3 separate regions of the Homo sapiens genome follow, and regions 1 and 2 are each linked to region 3. Evidence: promoter capture Hi-C in human tissues and cell types (Jung and others, 2019). All regions are on one chromosome and are shown on one strand. The core of a region is centred on a gene start or on the middle of the fragment in contact, and the rest is flanking DNA. Distances in the headings are between cores, read along the strand shown. Region 1 overlaps STRADA (STE20 related adaptor alpha). Region 2 holds the start of STRADA (STE20 related adaptor alpha). Region 3 holds the start of ICAM2 (intercellular adhesion molecule 2).

What was found. Contacts are between HindIII fragments. The study calls those that stand out against the background at their distance.
Region 1: a fragment that was not itself captured here is called in contact with the fragment with the promoter of ICAM2 in region 3 in 1 of the 25 tissues and cell types used here (psoas muscle).
Region 2: a contact is called between the fragment with the promoter of STRADA here and the fragment with the promoter of ICAM2 in region 3, in 1 of the 25 tissues and cell types used here (IMR-90 fibroblasts).

Annotation. Positions count from the first base shown.
Region 1 is chr17:63,710,301-63,714,135 of GRCh38, reverse strand. STRADA (STE20 related adaptor alpha) reads left to right here. Exons shown (of 13, transcript NM_001003787.4): 5 at 28-130; 6 at 609-730; 7 at 3,300-3,408; 8 at 3,522-3,645. Among named protein-coding and RNA genes, the nearest start is that of LIMD2, 12 kb to the right of the region's middle. RefSeq lists a silencer at 3,513-3,807. The HindIII fragment of the contact is 3,518 bases long and covers 772-3,835 here.
Region 2 is chr17:63,739,876-63,744,141 of GRCh38, reverse strand. STRADA (STE20 related adaptor alpha) reads left to right here and starts at 2,343. Exons shown (of 13, transcript NM_001003787.4): 1 at 2,343-2,401. RefSeq lists silencers at 2,061-2,180, 3,684-3,852 and an enhancer at 3,718-4,217. The HindIII fragment of the contact is 12,282 bases long and covers 1-4,266 here.
Region 3 is chr17:64,017,842-64,022,218 of GRCh38, reverse strand. It overlaps ICAM2 (intercellular adhesion molecule 2), which reads left to right and starts at 1,586. Exons shown (of 5, transcript NM_001099789.2): 1 at 1,586-1,696. RefSeq lists enhancers at 1,147-1,196, 1,417-1,506, 1,252-1,752, 1,847-1,966. The HindIII fragment of the contact is 6,467 bases long and covers 1-3,911 here.

The sequences.
Region 1 (3,835 bases), core at 1,281-3,780, 310 kb after region 3:
TAACCTATTTTTCTTTTTCTTTTTTAGACCAATGATGCGAGCTCAGAGTCAATAGCATCCTTCTCTAAACAGGAGGTCATGAGTAGCTTTCTGCCAGAGGGAGGGTGTTACGAGCTGCTCACTGTGATAGGTATGTGCAGGGGCCGTCCTTACTCTCCTGCTTTCTGCTCCAGGGGCTGCTGCAGCTTTCTCAGCAGCCCCAGATGTGTGTACAGCAGAGGCCATCCACTAGTTAGGAGGATTCATGGGCACAGACTTGCTTCTGTGGGTCTTCTCTGTTTTTTTATGCCAAGTATGGGAAGAGATCAAACTTCCAGGAAAGAAGCTCTTTTGCCATCTTTCCTTTGTGGCTGCCATGTTTCCGGTGTCCTGGCCATAGTGAGTCAGAAAGGTTGGCTGAGAAGGAACTGATGAGAGAAAAATCAAGAAATGTGAGCCATGAACATAACAGTTAAATTCTGCTGGGAAAAGGAAAAAAAAAAAAGTAACAGTAGTGAAAAATTTAACATTAAGTTTCTTTTGAAATCAAGTCCCTTTTTTAAAGGAAAATTTTCTTAAAACCTTTTGTTGTTCTTGTCCTTGCGTATGGCATTCCCTTTTTCTTTTAGGCAAAGGATTTGAGGACCTGATGACTGTGAATCTAGCAAGGTACAAACCAACAGGAGAGTACGTGACTGTACGGAGGATTAACCTAGAAGCTTGTTCCAATGAGATGGTAACATTCTTGCAGGTAATAAACCATGAGTGTGTCACATGGAGGGAGGGTGGGCTCTTGGCTCTGATAGGAATTACAAGGAATTACAAAGAAATGAAGGGAGACTAAACGTTCGGAAGTTATGGAAGCTTTCAGTGGAGAATCCTGGCCATTTGGCACTAAGGATTGGGCTGAAATGCTGCTCAGCCTAATTTATATTTCCCTTTTCTTCTCCAAACACTCCCTTCTGGCTTTTTTATTCATTTATTTATTATTTAGAAAGAAGCTAAGTAACTTGCTCATGGCAGAGGCAGGATTCAAACCCAGGCCATCTTGTTCCAGACACAAGGTGCCTGCCCTGCCACCAGTGGCCATCTTCTGGCTCTCAGCCTCCTGTTTGCCTGATGTTCCTTTCTTTTTCTTTTCTTTTTTTTTTTTTTTGAGACGGATTCTCACTCTGTCACCCAGGCTGGAGTGCAGTGGCACGATCTCGGCTCACTGCAACCCCCACCTCCCAGGTTCAAGCGATTCTCCTGCCTTAGCCTCCCGAGTAGCTGGGACTATAGGCGCACACCACCATGCCCGGCTAACTTTTGTATTTTTAGAAAAGACGGGGTTTCTTCATGTTGGCCAGGCTGGTCTCAAACTCCTGACTTCAGGTGATCTGCCTGCCTTGGTCTCCCAAAGTGCTGTGATTACAAATGTGAGCCACCGCATCTGGCCTCTTTTTTTTCGAGACAGGGTCTCATTTTATTGCCCTGGCTGGAGTACAGTGGCAGGACCACGGCTTACTGCAGCCTTAACCTCCTGGGCTCAAATGATTCTCCTGCCTCAGCCCCCCAAGTAGCTGGGACTATAGGCACACCACACCTGACTAATTTTTGTATTTTTTGTAGAGACAGAGTTTCACCATCTTGCCCAGGCTGGTCTCAAACTCCTGAGCTCGAGCAATCAACTCACCTCAGTCTCCCAAAATGCTAGGATTACAGGTGTGAGCCACTATGCCCAGTCCTGACATTCCTTTCTATTCGAGAAGCAAGTAGCCACTCTCTCGTTAAACTGAGAGAGGGGGCAGGCATGGTAGCTCATGCCTGTAATCCCAACACTTTGGGAGGGCAAGGCAGGGAGATTGCTTGAGCCCGGGAGTTTGAGATTGCACTACCAAACTCCAGCCTGGGTGACAGACTGAGTCCCTGGCTCAAAAAATAAAACAAAACAAAACGGAGAGAGACTGTGAGTCTAGTAAGTGCTTGGGAGTTAGACTCTCCTTTCCTGATGCCAGCTTAGAGTCAGGGCCTGGGGCAGTTTTCCTTCAGTAGAGTTAGTTGCAGCCCCTCCCCTCCTTCATTTACAACTTTTTCTGAATTGGTGGTTACCTGATGGTGCTCTAGGACCTGTTCATCTGTTCATAGTAGTTTGGTGGGTCTGAGGATGGAGCAGAAGCCAGTCTCAGCTGGCCTTCTCCTCCATCAACTGTGTTTTCTTTTTCTTTTTTTTTTCTTTATTTGAGACAAGGTCTGGCTCTGTTGCTCAGGCTGGAGTGCGGTGGTGCAATCACAGCTCACCACAGCCTCAACTGCTCAGGCACAGGTGATTCTACCACTTAAGCTTCCCGAGTAGCTGGGACTAAAGGCATGCACCACCATGCTCAACTAATTTTTTGTATGTTTCATATAGATGGGGTTTCGCCATGTTGCCCAGGCTGGTCTCCAACTCTTGGGCTCAAGTGATCTGCCTGCCTCGCCTCCCAAAGTGCTGGGATTACAGGCGTGAGCCACCATGCCCGGCCATGTTTTCTTTTATAATAGAAACATAGTTTTGGGCTGGGCACAGTGGCTCACGCCTGCAATCCCAGCACTTTGGGAGGCCAAAGCAGGCCTAGGCAACATGGCAAAACCCTGTCTCTACAAAAAAATATAAAAAATTAGCTAGGTATGTTGACGTCCACCTGTGGTCGCAGCTACCAGCGAGGCTGAGGTGGGAGGATGACTTGAGCCTGGGAAGTTCAGGCTGCAGTGAGACGGGATCACACCACTGCACTCCAGCCTGGGTGACAGAGCAAGACCCTGTCTCAAAAAAATAAAAAAGAAAACATTTTTGGCCAGGTGCAGTGGCTTGGTGGCTCACGCCTATAATCCTAGCACTTTGGGAGGCTGAGGCAGAAGGACTGCTTGAGCCCAGGAGTTTGAGACCAGCCTGGGCAACACAGTGAGACCTTGTCTCTACAAATAACAACAACAAAATATTTTTTGTTTTCTTATCTTAAAGAGGAATTCTATACGTTGGCCCTTGAAATTGAGATAAGCTTATAACTTCAGAAGTCTTCAGTCAACAGTTTGCCTTCATCATCTCTGAGTCGGTGTGCTGGCACCCTTTGTTGTTGGCAGTTTCCCTATCTGGCAGAGGCAAAGCAGTGCTGGGTCCCTGCAGAGGCAGCAGGGCCTTGTTTTTCCTATGTTGGCAGGCACCTGCTTAGGCTGTTCCCATGACTCTGAGAACACCCAGAAAGTGCCAGGTCCCCCTATTGTCCATGCTGCCATCTTTGTGTTGAGCGGCATCCTTCAGTGCCATTTGGTTCTGACTTCAGCTTCATCATTGCTTCCAGGGCGAGCTGCATGTCTCCAAACTCTTCAACCATCCCAATATCGTGCCATATCGAGCCACTTTTATTGCAGACAATGAGCTGTGGGTTGTCACATCATTCATGGCATACGGTGAGTGGGAAAGGGTTCTTGGTAGAAAGGGGTTATTGGGACTCTGTTGTCAGATTGCCTGTGTTTTCCTCCTCCATTACCTTTCACTGCCTCCATGCAATCCTTTTCTGCAGGTTCTGCAAAAGATCTCATCTGTACACACTTCATGGATGGCATGAATGAGCTGGCGATTGCTTACATCCTGCAGGGGGTGCTGAAGGCCCTCGACTACATCCACCACATGGGATATGTACACAGGTGCGTTCTTAGGCGGCCTTTCCCATGATTACAGTGGGTAGCTATGCCCCTGAGCCTTCAGGTAAAGTGAAGTTTGACTGAAGTTAATGAAGCCAGAGTTTAAAATCAAGGATCTGGATTCTTGCTGAAGATCTCTTTGCTCTGAAAAGAAACAGGGCCCAGCGCGATGGCTCACGCCTGTAATCACAGC
Region 2 (4,266 bases), core at 1,094-3,593, 280 kb after region 3:
TCCACCCATTCAGTAGGAATTGGCAATTCAGTAGGAATTGTTTAGAATTGTGTTGTACAAGAATCCAGTGGATTTGGCAGGAAGAGGTGAAACACTGTGCTTTATCATCCCAGGTTCTCATTCCTTACCATTCCTGCCTCCTCTCATTTTGAATGATGTGAAACGATGTAAGAGAGACAAGAGGCCGGGCGCGGTGGCTCATGCCTGTAATCCCAGCACTTTGGGAGGCCGAGGCAGGCAGATCACATGAGGTCAGGAGTTCAAGACCAGCCTGGCCAATATGGCAAATCCCCGTCTCTACTAAAAATACAAAAATTAACCGGGTGCGGTGGCACAAACCTGTAATCCTAGCTACTCAGGAGGCTGAGGCAGGAGAATCGCTTGAACCCAGGAGGCAGAGGTTGCAGTGAACCAAGATTGCACCACTGCACTCCAGCCTGGGCAATAGAGCAAGACTTCCGTCTCAAAAAAAAAAAAAAAAAAAGAGTTATACCCATAGGAGTGTCTTCTGTTACAGACTGCTAAAACAGAACAGTTCTGAGACAATATGTTTTCTCTACCCATTTGTAATGGCTGCAAGAAGTTTAGCATCTTTTCAGACAGTCTCTCTAATACTCGGTTCCAAAAGACCACATGTGAAAGACCCTTCAGTAGAACACTGCTAGAAATTTTACTTCTCTGTTTATACTCTGTTGCTTTGTGAGTTTACCAAGTTTGCTCCTGAGAGTGGCATCTTATTTTGAGAATGAGAGCATGTGAGGGTAGCCCTTAGCAATGTCAAAGCACTCGATAAAATCAAAATGATGTGGCCCAGCACAGATGGCTCACACCTGTAATCCCAGCACTTTGGGAGGCCGAGGCTGGTGGATCACCTGAGGTCAGGATTTTAAGACCAGCCTGACCAATATGGTGAAACCTCGTCTCTACTAAAAATACAAAAATCAGCCAGGCGTTGTGGCGTGCGCCTGTAGTCCCAGCGACTTGGGAGGCTGAGTCAGGAGAATTGCTTGAGCCCAGGAGGCAGAGGTTGCAGTGAGCCCAGATCACGTCACTGCATTCCAGCCTGGGCAACAGAGCAAGACTCCATCTCAAAAAAAAAAAAAAAAAAAATCAAAGTGATGTATGTAAGATCAAATGAGAACTCATGTGCATACAGGTCCCACAGTTTCAGGGGCATATTTCTTTTTTTCTTTTTTTTTTTTTTTTTTTTTGAGACGGAGTCTCGCTCTGTCGCCCAGGCTGGAAGTGCAGTGACGCGATCTCTGCACACTGCAAGCTCCGCCTCCCGGGTTCAGGCCATTCTGCTGCCTCAGCCTCCATAGTAGCTGGGATTACGGGCGCCTGTCACCACGCCCGGCTAATTTTTTTGTACTTTTAGTAGAGACGGGGTTTCGCCGTATTAACCAGGATGGTCTCGATCTCCTGACCTAGTGAACCACCCGCGTCGGCCTCCCAAAGTGCTGGGATTACAGGCGTGAGCCACCGCGCCCGGCCTTCCAGGGGCATATTTCTATAAGTCCCTACTTGGATGTAGCTAAACTCCTCCCCCAGTCTTGGAAGTTAGGACGGTCTAAATCTGTGTCAAAGCTCAGAGCTGGCAAGAGCGAGTGTTCATTACCTGATGGTATATATCCGCGTTTTGGATACCCCCTCCTGCGCACGCGGGGGATAAGTCACTGAAAAACCTAGTCTCACAGGAGTGAGGCTTAGTTCATCGCTTCCTCATTTCTCAAGCTCTGCATAACCTGGCTTGGACAAACCTGATAGGTTTCCACAAACGGCTTCAGCTGTGGATGAGGAAGGCTTCGGGGGAAAAAAAAAGATACTGAGGGGACAAGATCGTTTTCATTAGTTGAGCTATTTTCCTTGTTTTACAAATAGTGGGGAGCAAAGAAAGGATGGGCTTCCCCTTTGCAGCTTGTTGTCTGGTGCCCGAGAGGCCAAAGTGAGGGGCATTTGAGATGTCGTCCAAGAAAAGTGCGAGGCGGGTTTTCCATTAGAAGTCCTACCACATGAAATGAGAAAAACACAATTCTCAGGAACAGCCAAGTTTGCCTTTCTCTGGTCCTTCATTGTTGAAGCCACCTGCTTCCCCCTCCTGCTGCGGGGGCGGAGGCTGTAGGCGGAAGCGCTGCGCGGCGGGAAAGACAACGGGAACTGAGAACCGCTCTCGGCGCGGCGGCGGCTGCTAGGGCCTGCCGCAGCCGCGGCCACTCGGAAAGGGCGGGACTTCCCCGCAGGGCGGGGTGGGGCGGAGCGCTCTATCAGTCCTCCCGGTCGCCCCACTGCGCATGGCACGTTGCGTACTCCCCTCCCAGCAACCGGTCTGGCGGCGGCGCGGCAGTAAAACTGAGGAGGCGGAGCCAAGACGGTCGGGGCTGCTTGCTAACTCCAGGAACAGGTACCTGCCTGGCGGGGTGCCTGGTACGCTGCCGGGGCCAGTCCCTCCTGGCTCTGCCACCGATTCCATCTCCCCAGGCCCGGGCCTTCGTCGGAGCGGCCATCCTGGGCTCACCTCACCCTCCACGGGCCCCCTTTTTAACCCGCGTCCTCGACTCCCGCAATGAGGCGCCGCAGCCCGAGAGCAGAATAGGCTTGGGCCTGGCGGGGAGACGCTGAAGCGGAGTTGCCGGGCGAGAGAGGCGGGCTCCTGCTTTCCCCTTCCTCCCCACCCCCTAGGACTTCCAGGTGGGGAACCTAGGGCTGGGTGCCGGTTTGTCCTGTTCAGGCAGAGTGGCGGCCGACCCCGGTCCTGGGCTCCCCGCTGTCCCCAGCCGCCGCGCACTTTGGGCTGACAGGCAGCGGGTCAAGTCCTCGTAAGGACACAAGATCCAGATGACTCCCAGAATCGGCCTAAACGAAGAGCTCATTGTCTTTTTGTTTTCCAGAAATGTTTTTTGGGTGCCTGCAGGGGATTTGGGCGCCGGAGATGGGGGTTGGGGATAAGGAAGAGAGCTCGAGGGAGGGGCAGTGGGTAGGTAAAATTGTTCATAGTTCTCAGGAAATAGGGAACTAACCTCTCTGCCCAGCCTTCTCCTGTATCCTAACATACTTTAACTTGACTTTCCCGGAGAAAGAGCCGTTGGAATTTGCCCTTTTCTTATTGTAATATCTGTTCAAGTAGAAGCATGTTCCAATACGTATATGCGACGTTAAGACAATTCTTCATTGACACTCATACCTTCCTGAAGACACCCAGGACTGTTTCTTGTCCCTGAGAGTTAAGGAAGAAACCAAATTTGATCACCTGCCAAAAGCCTGTGAATTCAGCCTTTAGTTACAGTGCTGAACTGGTCAAATCTGTCCCCTACTTTTTAATCAGATTTCTTAGAGGTGTTTTGGCTGGAATGCAGTGTTTATAGTTGTGGCCCCAGAAATGGAGGAAGTTTACTCTGGTTTTTAGAGCGCAGGCTTTGGAACAGATTTAATTAGTCCCCTACCACTTATCTGTGTGACTTTGGGCATTTAACCTCCCTGCACACCTGAATTTCCTGATCCGTAAAACAGAGATGATAATACTTGTGAGCTGCTCATGAAGCATTTAGCACAGTGCCTGACACGTAGGAAGTTTGCCATAAATGTTTGCTGGGTTTATTATTTTCTCTCTTTATTTTTATTTTAATTTTTTTGAGATGGAGTTTCGCCCTCGTCCCCCAGGCTGGAATGCAATGGCGCGATCTCCGCTCACTGCAACCTCGGCCTCCTTGGTACAAGCAGTTATCCTGCCTCAGCCTTCCGAGTAGCTGGCATTACAGGCACCCCCCACCACACCTGGTTAATTTTTGTATTTTCAGTAGAGACGGGGTTTCACCATGTTGGTCAGGCCGATCTCTGAGGTCCTGACCTCAGGTGATCCACCAGCCTCGACCTCCCAAAGTGCTGGGATTACAGGCGTGAGCCACCGCGCCCGGCCAATAAAGCTATTTCTATGTCTGTCCACTAGTAATATTGCTTTGTTGTGTGTGTGTGTGTGTGTGTGTGTGTGTGTGTGTGTATATATATATATGTATGTGTATATATATATGTATGTATGTATATATATATATATATATATAGTGTTAAATGTTTCTGATAGGCTGGGTACCGTGGCCCACCTCTGTAATCCCAGCACTTTGAGAGACTGAGGCAGTAGGATTGCTTGAGCTCCGGAGTTTGAAACCAGGAACAGGTACCTGCCTGGCGGGGTGCCTGGTGCACTGCCGGAGCCAGTCACTCCTCGCTCTGCCACCGATTCCATCTCCCCAGGCCCGGGCCTTCGTCGGAGCA
Region 3 (4,377 bases), core at 337-2,836:
AAAGGTGGAAGCAACACAGGTGTCCATCAGTATATGAATGCATGAACAGAATGCGGCACACACGCACAATAGGATATTGCTCAGCCTTCAAAAGGAAGGCAGTTCTGGCCAAGCGTGGTGGTTCATGCCTGTAATACCAGCACTTTGGGAGGCTGAGGTGGGCGGATCATTTGAGGTCAGGAGTTCGAGACCAGCCTGGCCGACATGATGAAACCCCATCTCTACTAAAAATACAAAAATTAGCCAGTCGGCACGTGCCTGTAATCCCAGCTACTCAAGAGGCTGAGGCAAGGCCAGGCACGGTGGCTCATGCCTGTAATCCCAACACTTTGGGAGGCCAAGGCGGGCGGATTGCCTGAGCTCAAGAGTTTGAGACCAGCCTAGGCAACATGGTGAAACCCCATCTCTGCTAAAATACAAAAGAAATTAACCAGGCGTGGTGGCGTGCACCTGTAGTCCCAGCTACTCAGGAGGCTGAGGCAGGAGAATTGCTTGAACTCGGGAGGCGGAGGTTGCAGTGAGCCGAGATCACACCACTGCACTCCAGCACTCCAGCCTGGGCGACAGAGTGAGGCTCCATCTCTACAAAACAAACAAACAAACAAACAACAACAACAACAACAAAAACACTGAGGCAAGAGAATCGTTTGAACCTGGGAGGCAGAGGTTACAGTGAGCCAAGATCACACCACTGCACTCCAGCCTGGGCAACAGAGCGAAACTCCATCTCAAAAAAAAAAAAAGAAAGAAAAGAGAAAGAGAGAGCTCCAGAGATGGATGGTGGTGATGGTTGCAGAACAATGTGAATGTACTTAGTGCCCCAAACTGTACACTTAAACATAATTAAAATGGGCCTAGCACGGTGGCTCATTCCCAGCATTTGGGAGGCTGAGGTGGGAGGATTGCTTGAGCTCAAGAGTTTGAGACCAGGCTGGGCAACATAAGCAACACTCTGTCTCTACAAAAACTACAGAAATTAGCCAAGCCTGGTGGCTGCACACTTGTAGTCCCAGTCACTTGGGAAGTTGAGGAGGGAGGGTCACTTGAGCTCAGGGGTCAGAGGTTGCCACGAACTGTGATTGTGCCACTGCACTCCAGCCTAGGTGACAAAAGCAAGACTCTGTCTTAAAAACAACACAACAAAAAATTGGCTGGACGCAGTGGCTCTTGCCTGTAATCCTAGCACTTTAGGAGGCCGAGGAAGGCAGTTCACTTGAGGTCAGGAGTTCGAGACCAGCCTGGCCAACATGGTGAAACCCTGTCTCTACTAAAAATACAAAAATTAGCCAGGCGTGGTGGCAGGTGCCTGTGGTCCCGGTTACTCTGCGGGCTGAGGCACAAGAATCACGTGAACTCGGGAGGCAGAGGTTGCAGTGAGCCGAGATCACACCACTGCACTCCAGCCTGGGTGACTGAGACTCAGTCTAAAAAAAAAAAAAAAATTGAAATGGTAAATTCTGTTGTGTACGTTTTACCACAATTAAAAAAAAAAAAAGCGGAATGGGAGTGGAGCTAAATGAGGCTAGTTTAGGGTGGGAACCGGGGCACAGGAAGCACGTCACTTCTGGTGGGGAGTGGGGGGAGGGAGAAGACTGAATAAGCCGTGAACTGGGCAGCTGTGACACGCGCACCTTGTCACCTTGTCACCAATTTCCTGCCCGGGATCCCAGAGCTACCCTTCTTGGAGCCCACAGGGGTAAGGTTGAGCTTCTCACTTTCCCTCCAATGAAGCGTGGCAGCATGGGAAGGATTTTGGCAGTGTCGAGGTCTGAGTTTTAGTCCGTTCCCCTCTCTGGGTCTCAGTTTCTCGCTGGTAAGTGCAGGGGTTGGGGAATCCCCAGCGCTCCTGTGGCTCGACATTCTGCACTCTGTGAAGCTCCTGCCCTGCCCTGCTGGGTCTCTGAGCTCACGCACTTGCCCTGGCGCTCCTTTCCTGATTTGTCTCCCCTCTCTCCTTCCTCTGCTCTGCCATCTCGGTGGCCGATGTAGAAATGTGGGGCTGCCTCCTTATTTAGGGGCCCACGTGGGCTGTGATCTGGACCATCTGAGCTGATGCAGAGGGGAAGGGACAGTCCCTGTTCTCCCCGGCAGGCGTGGTGGGTTCATAATGAATCTCAGTCACTCACTTCCTACCTGCCTCGGTTCGAGGGGGTCTTTCCTAACCCATGGCTCACATTCCCATGAAGCCTCTTCTTTCTAGGCACGTAGAAAGGCCCTTTTTCCCTTTTATTATTTTTGTAAAATTTACTAGGTAACGCATAAAAAGCTTATGTAACATACATATACATCATACTGCACAGTAATATACCAAACACACCTGAAGCTGCCACTCAGCACAAGGATGGAGTATCACCAAACTGCAAACACCACTTATCTGCTTTTTTTTTTTTTTTTTTTTTTTGAGACAGAGTTTTCATTCTTGTCGCCCAGGCTGGAGTGCAGTGGCACAATCTTGGCTCACCACAACCTTCGCCTGCTGGGTTCAAGCGATTCTCTTGTCTCAGCCTCCCAAGTAGCTGGGACTACAGGTGCGCATGCCACCATGCCCAGCTAATTTTTGTGTTTTTGGTAGCGACAGGGTTTCACTATGTTGGCCAGGAGAGTCTCGATCTCTTGACCTCATGATCCGCCCACCTCGGCCTCCCAAAATGCTGGGATTACAGGCGTGAGCCACCACACCTGGCCACCACTTGTCCACTTTTATGCTACTTGCCTCCCACCCACAGGTAGCCACCCTCTGGAATTTTGTGTTTATTGTTCTCTTATTTTTAAGTGCTTTATTACATATGCATCTCTATTTATTTATTTATTTATTTATTTACTGAGATGGGGTCACACTATATTTCCCAGGCTGGAGTGCAGTGGCTATTCACAGGCATGATCATAGCACACTACAACCTCGAACTCCTGGGATCCAGTGATCTTCCCACCTCAGCCTCCTGATTAGTTGGGACTACAGTCTTGAACTGCTGCACCTGGCTATGCCTATTTATTTTTATTTTATGAAACAGTTATATAGCGTTACTGTGTGCTAGGCACTGTTCTAAATGCTTTAAAATATTTACTTATTTTATTTGTTTAATCTGCACAAAAACCCTATGAGGAAGATACTATTATTGATTCCTTTTTGCAGATGAGGAAATTGAGGCACAGAAAGATTAAGTGATTTGCTCAAGGTCACACAGATAGTGAGAAGTAAGGCCGGGAGCAGTGGCTCATGCCTGTAATCCCAGCACTTTGGGAGGCCAAGGCAGGAGGATCATGAGGTCAAGAGATAGAGACGGTCCTGGCCAACAAGATGAAACCCCATCTCTACTAAAAATACAAAAATTAGCTGGGTGTGGTGGCGTACGCCTGTAGTTTCAGCTATTCGGGAGACTGAGGCAGGAGAATAGCTCGAACCCGGGAGGTGGAGGTTGCAGTAAGCCAAGATCGCGCCACTGCACTCCAGCCTGGGCGACACAACGAGACCCCGTCTCAAAAAAAAAAAAAAAAAAAAAAAAAAGAGAAGTAAACACAAAGACATGTCTGGTTCTTAGTGTGACAGCGTTTCTAGGGCATACATCTAAGAATGGAACTGTGAGTTACAGGGTATAAGAATATTCCGTTTACAAGATAATGCCTAATTATCTCTGAGAGCACCAATATACACTCTCATCAGCAGTTAGAAGGGTGCCTATTAACCTACGGCCTCTCCAACAATTGGTCTTGTCATATTTCTTAACTTTTGCCAACCTAATACATATAAAATAGTATCGGTCCCATTGTAATTTTAATTTTAATTTCCCTGGCTACTCGAGCTAAATAATCTTTTCACTTGTTTAGACATGTTTCCTTTTCTTTGAAATGTTTCTTTGTGTCTTTTTTTTTTTTTTTTTTTTTTTTGAGATAGAGTCTCACTCTGTCACCCAGGCTGGAATGCAGTGTCGCGATCTCAGCTCACTGCAAGCTCCGCCTCCTAGGTTCACGCCATTCTCCTGCCTCAGCCTCCCGAGTAGCTGGGACTACAGGTGCCCGCCACCATGCCTGGCTAATTTTTTTGTATTTTCAGTAGCGATGGGGTTTCACCATGTTGGCCAGGATGGTCTCGATCTTCTGACCGCGTGATCAGCCCGCCTCGGCCTCCCAAAGTGCTGGCGTCACAGCCGCACCCGACCTGTTTCTTTGTATCTTAGTCAAAGATACCAATTGTTGATTTTATGATTGACAATTTCGAGGTCTTGCCCCAAGGATATGGAAATACTCTCCTACATTTTCTTATAAAGAGTTTCTTTCACATATAAATCCTTAATCTAAATGGAATTGATTTCTATATTTGGTGTGAGATAGGGATACATTTTCCCCTTTTTTTCTCTATATGGTTAATCAATTGATCCT